2 separate regions of the Homo sapiens genome follow, and region 2 is linked to region 1. The links are contacts of gene promoters, found by promoter capture Hi-C in blood cells and fetal thymus (Javierre and others, 2016). All regions are on one chromosome and are shown on one strand. Each heading gives the region's core, a stretch centred on a gene start or on the middle of the fragment in contact. The rest is flanking DNA. Distances are from core to core; before and after follow the strand shown.

Region 1 (4,116 bases), core at 332-2,831:
TACCTACCTCCATGGTTTCCTCAGCCTTCAGCCCATTCTAAAGGTGCCCGACCCTAGCTAATCTTCCCTTTTGACCCCAATGCCTTTAAAATCAGAGCTGGTATTTTAGGAAACAATGATTACAGGGCACTGCCAAGGAAAAATTCCAGGCCTCTTGTCCTTCCCATGGTCCTTTCCCCAACTATGTCTTGCTCTGTACTTCTAAGCAACCCCCTCTCAGGCTACCCCCTCACCATTACCAATGGCTATAGCTTTATCCCAAACCATGCTCATTTTCAGAAAGGTGTTTAGTATGTGAGCAGTTTTGCATCCAGAAAACTGGCAGGGCTGTATGACCAGAAACTGCAGCTCATTGGTTAGATAAACCCAGAGTTCTGACCACATAGTTAGTCAGTTATGCCTCAGGCCCCAGGGACCACCAAGGGTAAGAAGTTAGGGAGGGGATAATAGGAATCAGACTAGCCACGTGGAAGGTCACATCACATTTCTTTTTTGTCTCCTTACCCCTATAGGGCTTAGGATGAAGATTTTATATATTTAGATACAAATCTCAGCCAAGCATGGTGGCTCATGCCTATAATCCCGGCACTTTGGGTGGCTGTCGGGGGCGGATTGCTTGAGTCCAGGAGTTAAAGACCAGCCTGGCCAACATAGCAAAACTCTGTCTCTAAAAAAAAAAAAATTAGCCAGGCGTGGTAGCACACGCCTATAGTCCCAGCTACTCGGGAGGCTAAGGTGGAAGGATCACCTCAGCCTGGGAGGTTGAGGCTAGAGTGAGCCATGATCATGCCACTGCACTCCAGCTTGAATGACAGAGTGAGACCCTGTTTCAAAAAAAAAAATTAGCTGTGCGTGGTGGCGCGTACCTAGTAGTCCCAACTACTGAGCTGTGGTTGCACCACTGCACTCCAGCCTAGACAACAAAGTGAGACCCTATCTTTAAAAAATAATAATAATTATTATATACAATATATAACTATATAATATATAATTATGTTATATATTATATGTATATTATATATAATATATAATTATGTTATATATTATATGTATATTATATATAATATATAATTATGTTATATATTATATGTATATTATATATAATATATAATTATGTTACATATTATATGTATATTATATATAATATATAATTATGTTATATATTATATGTATATTATATATAATATATAATTGTTATATATTATATGTATATTATATATAATATATAATTATACATTATATATTATATAATTATTAGATACAAATCTTACACAAGGTCCTAGGCAGCTTTAGCCCCTGCCAGTCTCAATATTCAAACAGTCATATGTGAGGGCATAAAAATGCACAAGGACACAGACACACATACAAGAAATGTACAACCAGTGTTCGCTTCCTAACCTAAATCCCAAAGAATTTTAACTATAATGGTCCCAATTCCAAACAATCTATGTATCTTCCATCCCCACCAGAAACCAAGAAGTTAACTTCCCTCACCTGTCAGGAACACCAGGGGCAAGAACAGGTGAGTGACGAAGGGGAGTTCCATGCCTGATCGGTTTCTGTCCAGTATGAGAAGTCCTCTGGCCTCTGTCCCTCTCCTTTTCTGTTTTCTTCACTTTCCCTCCCATCCTGCCCCCTCCCAATGGCAGCTAAAAATAAAGTTGGAAGGAATGGGAGGAGTGATGGTGGGGAACTGTGGGGAGCCCCAGACCAAGGAAAACACTGAGCGATCTTAGTCTATTTCTCTGCCTTGGTGCTGCCCCCTGGAGGCCTCATCTCTATATCCAGAGAACATATTTTTTTGCCCATTTCTGCTATTTCTTTTTTTCTACTGTTTATTGTTGCCAGGTCAATAATGCTTTCCTCAAATTTGGAACAGGAGTGGGAGATGGATTCTTTTTTATAAGAAAAGAATCTTAAACTTTTGTTTAAAAGTTTTAGACAAATTATTTATATTGAGAATACAGACAGGGTTTCACTATGTTACCCAGGCTGGTCTTGAACTCCTGAACTCAAGGAATCCTCCCACCTCAGCCTCCCAAAGTGAGCCACTGCACCCAGCTGGGAGATAGGAGATAGATTCAGATTTTTTTTTTTCTTTTTTAAGGCAGAGTCTCACTCTGTCACCCAGGCTGGAGTGCAGTGGCACAATCTTGGCTCACTGCAACCTCTGTCTCCCACGTTCAAGCATTTCTCATGCCTCAGCCTCCCAGGTAGCTGGGACTACAGGCACATGCCACCATGCCTGGCTAATTTTTTATTTTTAGTAGAGGCAGGGTTTCACCATGTTGGCCAGGCTGGTCTTGAACTCCTGACCTTAAGAGATCCACCTGCCTCGGCCTCCCAAAGTGCTGGGATTACCGGCGTGAGCCACCACGCCTGGCCGATAGATTCACTTCCTAACCTTATTTATCTCAACCTGGAATATGGAAAATGAAAGAGCTGATAGCAGTGGTATCATTTCCCTACCCACCCAGGGGAGTCTCAACTTGTGAAGACACAGCTCCAAATCCTTACCAGCCCCACTCCACTTGGTTCTGTCCTTGGCTCTTAGCCTATGCTGTCATATGGCATTCTGCTTCTTAGAGGGATTATATCTGAACTGGTATGAGATGTGCTTTGTGGAGCCAGGACAATAACTTTAGTATTAGACCACTCCTCTGCCACCCCAACTCCTCAGCTAGGTTATAAACTTCTTAAAGTTGGGAGTGTGGAGCTTCTTAGATTTTTGGATGCCCACTAAGTATGTTGCTTTACATACTGTAGGTGCTCAAGAAAAATAATGTGGGTGATGTTAGTGGCTAATCCCGAGAAAAACCCAAACCACAGTGACAGGAATAGGGGCCTCAAATTACCAAAAAATGAGGGACCAGACCAAATGTCGATGAGCAAACTGAACTTTAATTTGCTTACCTGAAAGGCTTGCTCTTCATTATTGGCATAGGCCACAGCTATTTACACAGAATCATTGTACAGGATTTACAGCAAGATGCTACACATAGCATCATTCTGGATAAGCGACAAAGGAGTAAGAACAGACTGGGGAATAAAGCTCTGAAATCAAAGTGTAAGCAGAAATCTGAAGGTAGGTGTACAAGGAAGGATAAGGGCCAAATGATGAGCGAGGTTGGTGAGGTAGACATAAGGGAGGAAGAGGAAACATCCAACAACTTGTGGTGCAGAGATATAAGGGAAGAGTCCACTGGCACATAGTCTTAAAAATTATGTTTGGAGTTTGAAGGAGGAAAAATCTGCCATAAGCCACCTCTGTGAGAAAAAAGAAGGCAGTTAGAACCTTACAGGCCAAACCTTATACCTCCCCTATCAAAAAGTAATTCTGCTGATTAAATCCCTGGATAGGAGAATGAGAAGGTTGAAAAAAGAAAGAGAGAGATGCATAGACACAGAACCTTAAACAGAGTTAAGAGACACAAAGTAAATATATTCAAGAGAGACACAAAGAAAGAGGAAAAGAACAGAAGCTCAGGCACATCTAGAAATTAGAGACATCCTATTAACTTCACGAGTCATCTTTCCTTACCTCATCTTCCCCAAAGCTCTTCCTCCACCCCTAAATCTCTGAATTTCTAACTTTAACCAAAGAGTAGAATTCGAATGAGGCTGGCACATGGGGGACGATCTAAGATTCCATCTCACCAATTCAGGTCCCCTCCTTATCCTGTACCGGAAGGTCAGGGCTTGAGTCGTAGCCAGGGATAGATTAGGGTGAGAATAGACAGGATGGAGGACACGAGGCCACAAAGCCCCACAATCCCAGGGCCACAGCGCCAGAGGCCTAGTTTGTCCAGAGGAATGAAGAGATCACAGGCATTTCTGACCACGTCTAGCAGAAGTGGGGGATGACCTCTAAGGACTCGAGCCAGGAGCAGGACTTGCAGCCGAAGTTTCAGAGCCAGTTGGGGCAGACCTCCTCCTGGAGTCCCTGGTCCCCCAAGTCCCCCAGTTTCACTTCCTCCTGGGACTCCTCCTCCAGAACCTTTCAGTCGCCGGCTACAAGCAGAAGACTCTTGCTCCATCAGTAGGCGAATCTCATAAGCATCACGGCTCAAATTCATGATGAGGGAAAACAAATAGTACCTGATACACAGAGCAAAA
Region 2 (3,922 bases), core at 59-2,558, 140 kb after region 1:
ATCAAATTTGGAAAATATCAAATGGAATTATAGGCAATAAGCATAACCCAGTGGAACCATGAATCAAACCCTCTAGAGCAGGGTTGTCTAAATTTTGGCTTCCTTGGGCCACACTGGAAAAAAAAAAAAGACACTTGTCTTGGGCCAAACATAATATACACTAATCGCAATTGAACTGTACCTGTAAAGCTTGTAAACAAAATGTGTCTGTAAAGTCTGTAAACAGGCCAGGTGCGGTGGCTCAGGCCTGTAATCCCAACATTTTGGGAGGCCGCGAGGCAGGCGGAAAACTTGAGGTCAGGAGTTCAAGACCAGGGTGGCCAACATGGTGAAACCCTGTCACTCTTTTTTTTTTTTTTTTTTTTTGAGACGGAGTCTCACTCTGTCGCCCAGGCTGGAGTGCAGTGGTGCGATCTCAGCTCACTGCAACCTCTGCCTCCCGGGTTCAAGCGATTCTCTTGCCTCAGCCTCCTGAGTAGCTGGGACTACAGGCACGTGCCACCACACCCGGCTAATTTTTTTTTTTTGTATTTTTATTAGAGATGGGGTTTCACTGTGTTAGCCAGGATGGTCTTGACCTCCTGACCTCATGATCCACCCGCTTCCGCCTCCCAAAGTGCTGGGATTACAGGCGCGAGCCAGTGCGCCCGGCCCGGTGAAACCATGTCTCTACTAAAAATTCAAAAAATTAGCCGGACCTAATTTTTTGGTTGCCTGAGCCTGTAATGCCAGTTACTCGGGAGGCTGAGTATTCTCTGGTTGAGGAAGGAGAATAGCTTGAACGCAGGAGGCAAAGGTTGCAGTAAGGCGAGATCGCGCCATACACTCCAGCGGACTGTTTGCTGTTAATCCCATAGGGAAAAGAAAAGCTTAGTTTTATTTCTATAGAACAACAACAAAAAAAGATAAGAGATTAGTAGAGACGGGTTCACTATATTTGCCCACACACGCCTGAGGTCGAGCGATATTAACATAAACATAACCTATCGACGTACCTCATAGATTGCTGGGATTACAAACGTGAGAACCACGATGTCCCAAATTTTTAGTTTCAGTGAAGTTACAGATGGGAACAAAGACCTGATTCTCAGCTTACGCTGACGCCCAGTATGCGTTTCTGCAGCAAACAAAACCTATTTTTAAAACGACAAAAATACAGGGGAAAGCGCGAATGCAGTCTACCACTGCCACAAATTATACAGTCAAGTTTCCCACATTTGGGGAAACTGCAGGGGTCAGCAGATCCGGAGTGCAATGGATAAGACTCGCTCTGGAAAAACCACCTTCGTGACCAGGGTATCTCTCCTGCCAGGTAAGTATGAGTTATTGCACCTCCGCCCCGCCGGCAGCCTCACACGCTTCACCCTTTACACGCACGGTCACTTGCCCCGCGCACACCCCCCTCCCCCCCAGCCCTCCTAGCCCTGACACACAGCTGGGACTCTCAGGTCCGACCAGCGGTCCTGAACCCGCTCCCACGGCACGGGAACTCCTTCGTGGCGAAGCAGCATGTGGCGAAGCAGCAGCCCCTGCGCTGGCTCATCTACATAGAAGTCGCCCTATCCGTGATGTCACCGACAGCGCCTTTCCCAGTCCCCGTCTGCCTTTCTGCCGCTCAGCCGACCAACCCGCTGCCGGAGCCGGCAAGGGGAAGTGACGTCTGCCTCTCCCTTTTTTCTCTCCTGCTTCCCTCATCTGTTCTCTTCCAAAGAAGCTGGTCCTTAGCCTGTATTGCGGAGCAAGCTTTCGGCGACCAGCTGGACCCTGGGCACCCTTCTTCGAACAATGGCTTTTAATTCTCAGACTAGAACGTTTAGGATTACAAAAGAAACTGGTTCTTTTCACATTCTTATTCTTGTGATGTAGCATTCCGCATATATATATATATATATATATATATATATATATATATGTATCCAACTATCCTAAAAGACACTACCCTTCATCATTCCATGCCATTAGACATGTATAGGACCATGCATGGTGATCTCCTCCAGACAAAAGTAAATGCTGGTGCAGAACAGGTAAGTGTACTATAATTTGAGTACATCAGCTTTTGGGCATTTTAAACCATGGGTCAGACAAGTTAGAGCAAGAGGGCAGGTTGATAGCAAGAGGGAGTGTTTTTCTTTTAATTTTCTTTTTTTTTGTTTTGAGACGGAGTCTCGCGCTCTTCGCTCAGGCTGGAGTGCAGTGGGGCTATCTCGGCTCACTGCAAGCTCCGCCTCCCGGGTTCACGCCATTCTCCTGCCTCAGCCTCCCCAGTAGCTGGGATTACAGGCACCTGCCACCACGTCCGGCTAATTTTTTGTATTTTTAGTAGAGATGGGGTTTCACTCTGTTAGCCAGGATGGTCTCGATCTCCTGACCTTGTGATCCGCCCACCTCGGCCTCCCAAAGTGCTGGGATTACAGGCGTGAGCCACCGCGCCCGGCTTCTTTTAATTTTCAAATAGCAAAGTGATGTTTGCCACTGTCATTTCAGAATGAGGTGACAATTTGTTGTTGTTTGGTTTTGTGGGGTTTTTTGTTTGTTTGTTTGTTTCTGAGACAAGGTCTCACTGTCGCCCAGGTTGGAGTACAGTGGCATGATCAGGGTTTACTTCTGCCTTGACCTCACGAATTCAAGCAAACCTCCTTACTAATCCTCCCAAGTAGCTGGGACTACAGGTGCATGACACCACACCCTGGGGTGTGAACTGGGATTTGATGTTTTCAGTTGGCTCCCTGATGGAATAGGTTCCCTTACTATTCTGGAATACAGATTGTCTTCATGATTATGATTCATAATCATAATGATTATGACAGCAGTCCCTGCTGTCAGGCAGGGACGTTTAAGTCTGCAGAAGCTGTCTGCTGCCTTTTATTCAGATATGCCCTGCCCCCAGAGGTGGAATCTAGAGGCAGTAGGCCTTGCTGAGCTGCAGTGGGCTCTACCCAGTTCGAGCTTCCCTACCACTTTATTTACACTGTGACCATAGAACCACATACTCAAGCCTCAGCAGTGGCAGAACCCCCTCCCCCTGCCATGCTCCAGTGTCACAGGTTGATCTCAGACTGCTGTGCTAGCAGCAGGCAAGGCTCCATGGGCATGGGACCTGCCGAGCCAGGCACAAGAGGGAATCTCCTGGTCTGTCGGTTGCAAAGACAGTGGAAAAAAGCACAGTATTTGGGCAGGGGTGTACTGCTTCTCGAGGTACAGTCACTCACAGCTTCCCTTGGCTAGGAAAAAGAAATCCCCCAACCCCTTGCACTTCCCGGGTGAGGCGACACCCCACCCTGCTTTGGCTCATCCTCCGTGGGCTGCATCCACTGTCCAACGAGTCCCAGTGAGATGAACCAGGTACCTCAGTTGGAAATGCAGAAATCACCTGTCTTCTGCGTCTATCTCACTTGAAGCTGTAGACCGGAGCTGTTCCTATTCAGCCATCTTGGAAGCAACCCTCTTTTTCTTTTTGTATTTTGGTAGAGACAGGGTTTCACCATATTGCCCAGGCTGGTTTCAAACTCCTGAGGTCAAGCCATTCTATAAAACAAACTTACATTTGTTTTATCTGAGTTCCTTCCTCAGGAAAGGACTCTCAGGCCTCTCAAAAAGCATCAGAGACCCGAAACTCAGCCAATCACAGCATCCAGACAATGAGATGCCAGTCCCCTCACTCATCACGAGTGCTTCCTCACCCCTCTCTAGTTCCTCTTTTCCCACACACAGTTAACTTTTCTTCTGCGCTATATAAACCCCTAACTTTAGTCAATCAGGGAGACAGATTTGAGACTCATCTCCTGTCTACTCAGCTGCAGCACCTGATTAAAGCCTTCTTCCTCAGCAATACTCAATGTCTCAATGATTGTCTTTCTGTGTGCTGAGAACACTGAAGCCCTGGGGTTTTGGTAAAAATACATGTACACTTTTAAAAACCGCA

Evidence for each region. Contacts are between HindIII fragments. The CHiCAGO score rates a contact against its expected background, and 5 or more counts as called.
Region 2: a fragment that was not itself captured here is called in contact with the fragment with the promoter of ITGA10 in region 1 in 8 of 17 cell types (non-activated CD4 T cells, neutrophils, naive B cells and 5 more); the score reaches 8.7 in non-activated CD4 T cells.

The regions. Positions count from the first base shown.
Region 1 is chr1:145,908,469-145,912,584 of GRCh38, forward strand. It overlaps ITGA10 (integrin subunit alpha 10), which reads right to left and starts at 1,582. Exons shown (of 30, transcript NM_003637.5): 1 at 1,495-1,582. The coding sequence starts at 1,546. It overlaps PEX11B (peroxisomal biogenesis factor 11 beta), which reads right to left. Exons shown (of 4, transcript NM_003846.3): 4 at 2,882-4,098. The coding sequence ends at 3,693. The HindIII fragment of the contact is 6,999 bases long and covers 1-4,116 here.
Region 2 is chr1:146,050,925-146,054,846 of GRCh38, forward strand. RNVU1-6 (RNA, variant U1 small nuclear 6) reads right to left here and starts at 1,320; the gene lies at 1,157-1,320. It overlaps LINC01719 (long intergenic non-protein coding RNA 1719), which reads left to right and starts at 1,672. Exons shown (of 3, transcript NR_125968.1): 1 at 1,672-2,024. RefSeq lists enhancers at 530-1,258, 1,259-1,990 and a silencer at 1,170-1,409. The HindIII fragment of the contact is 874 bases long and covers 872-1,745 here.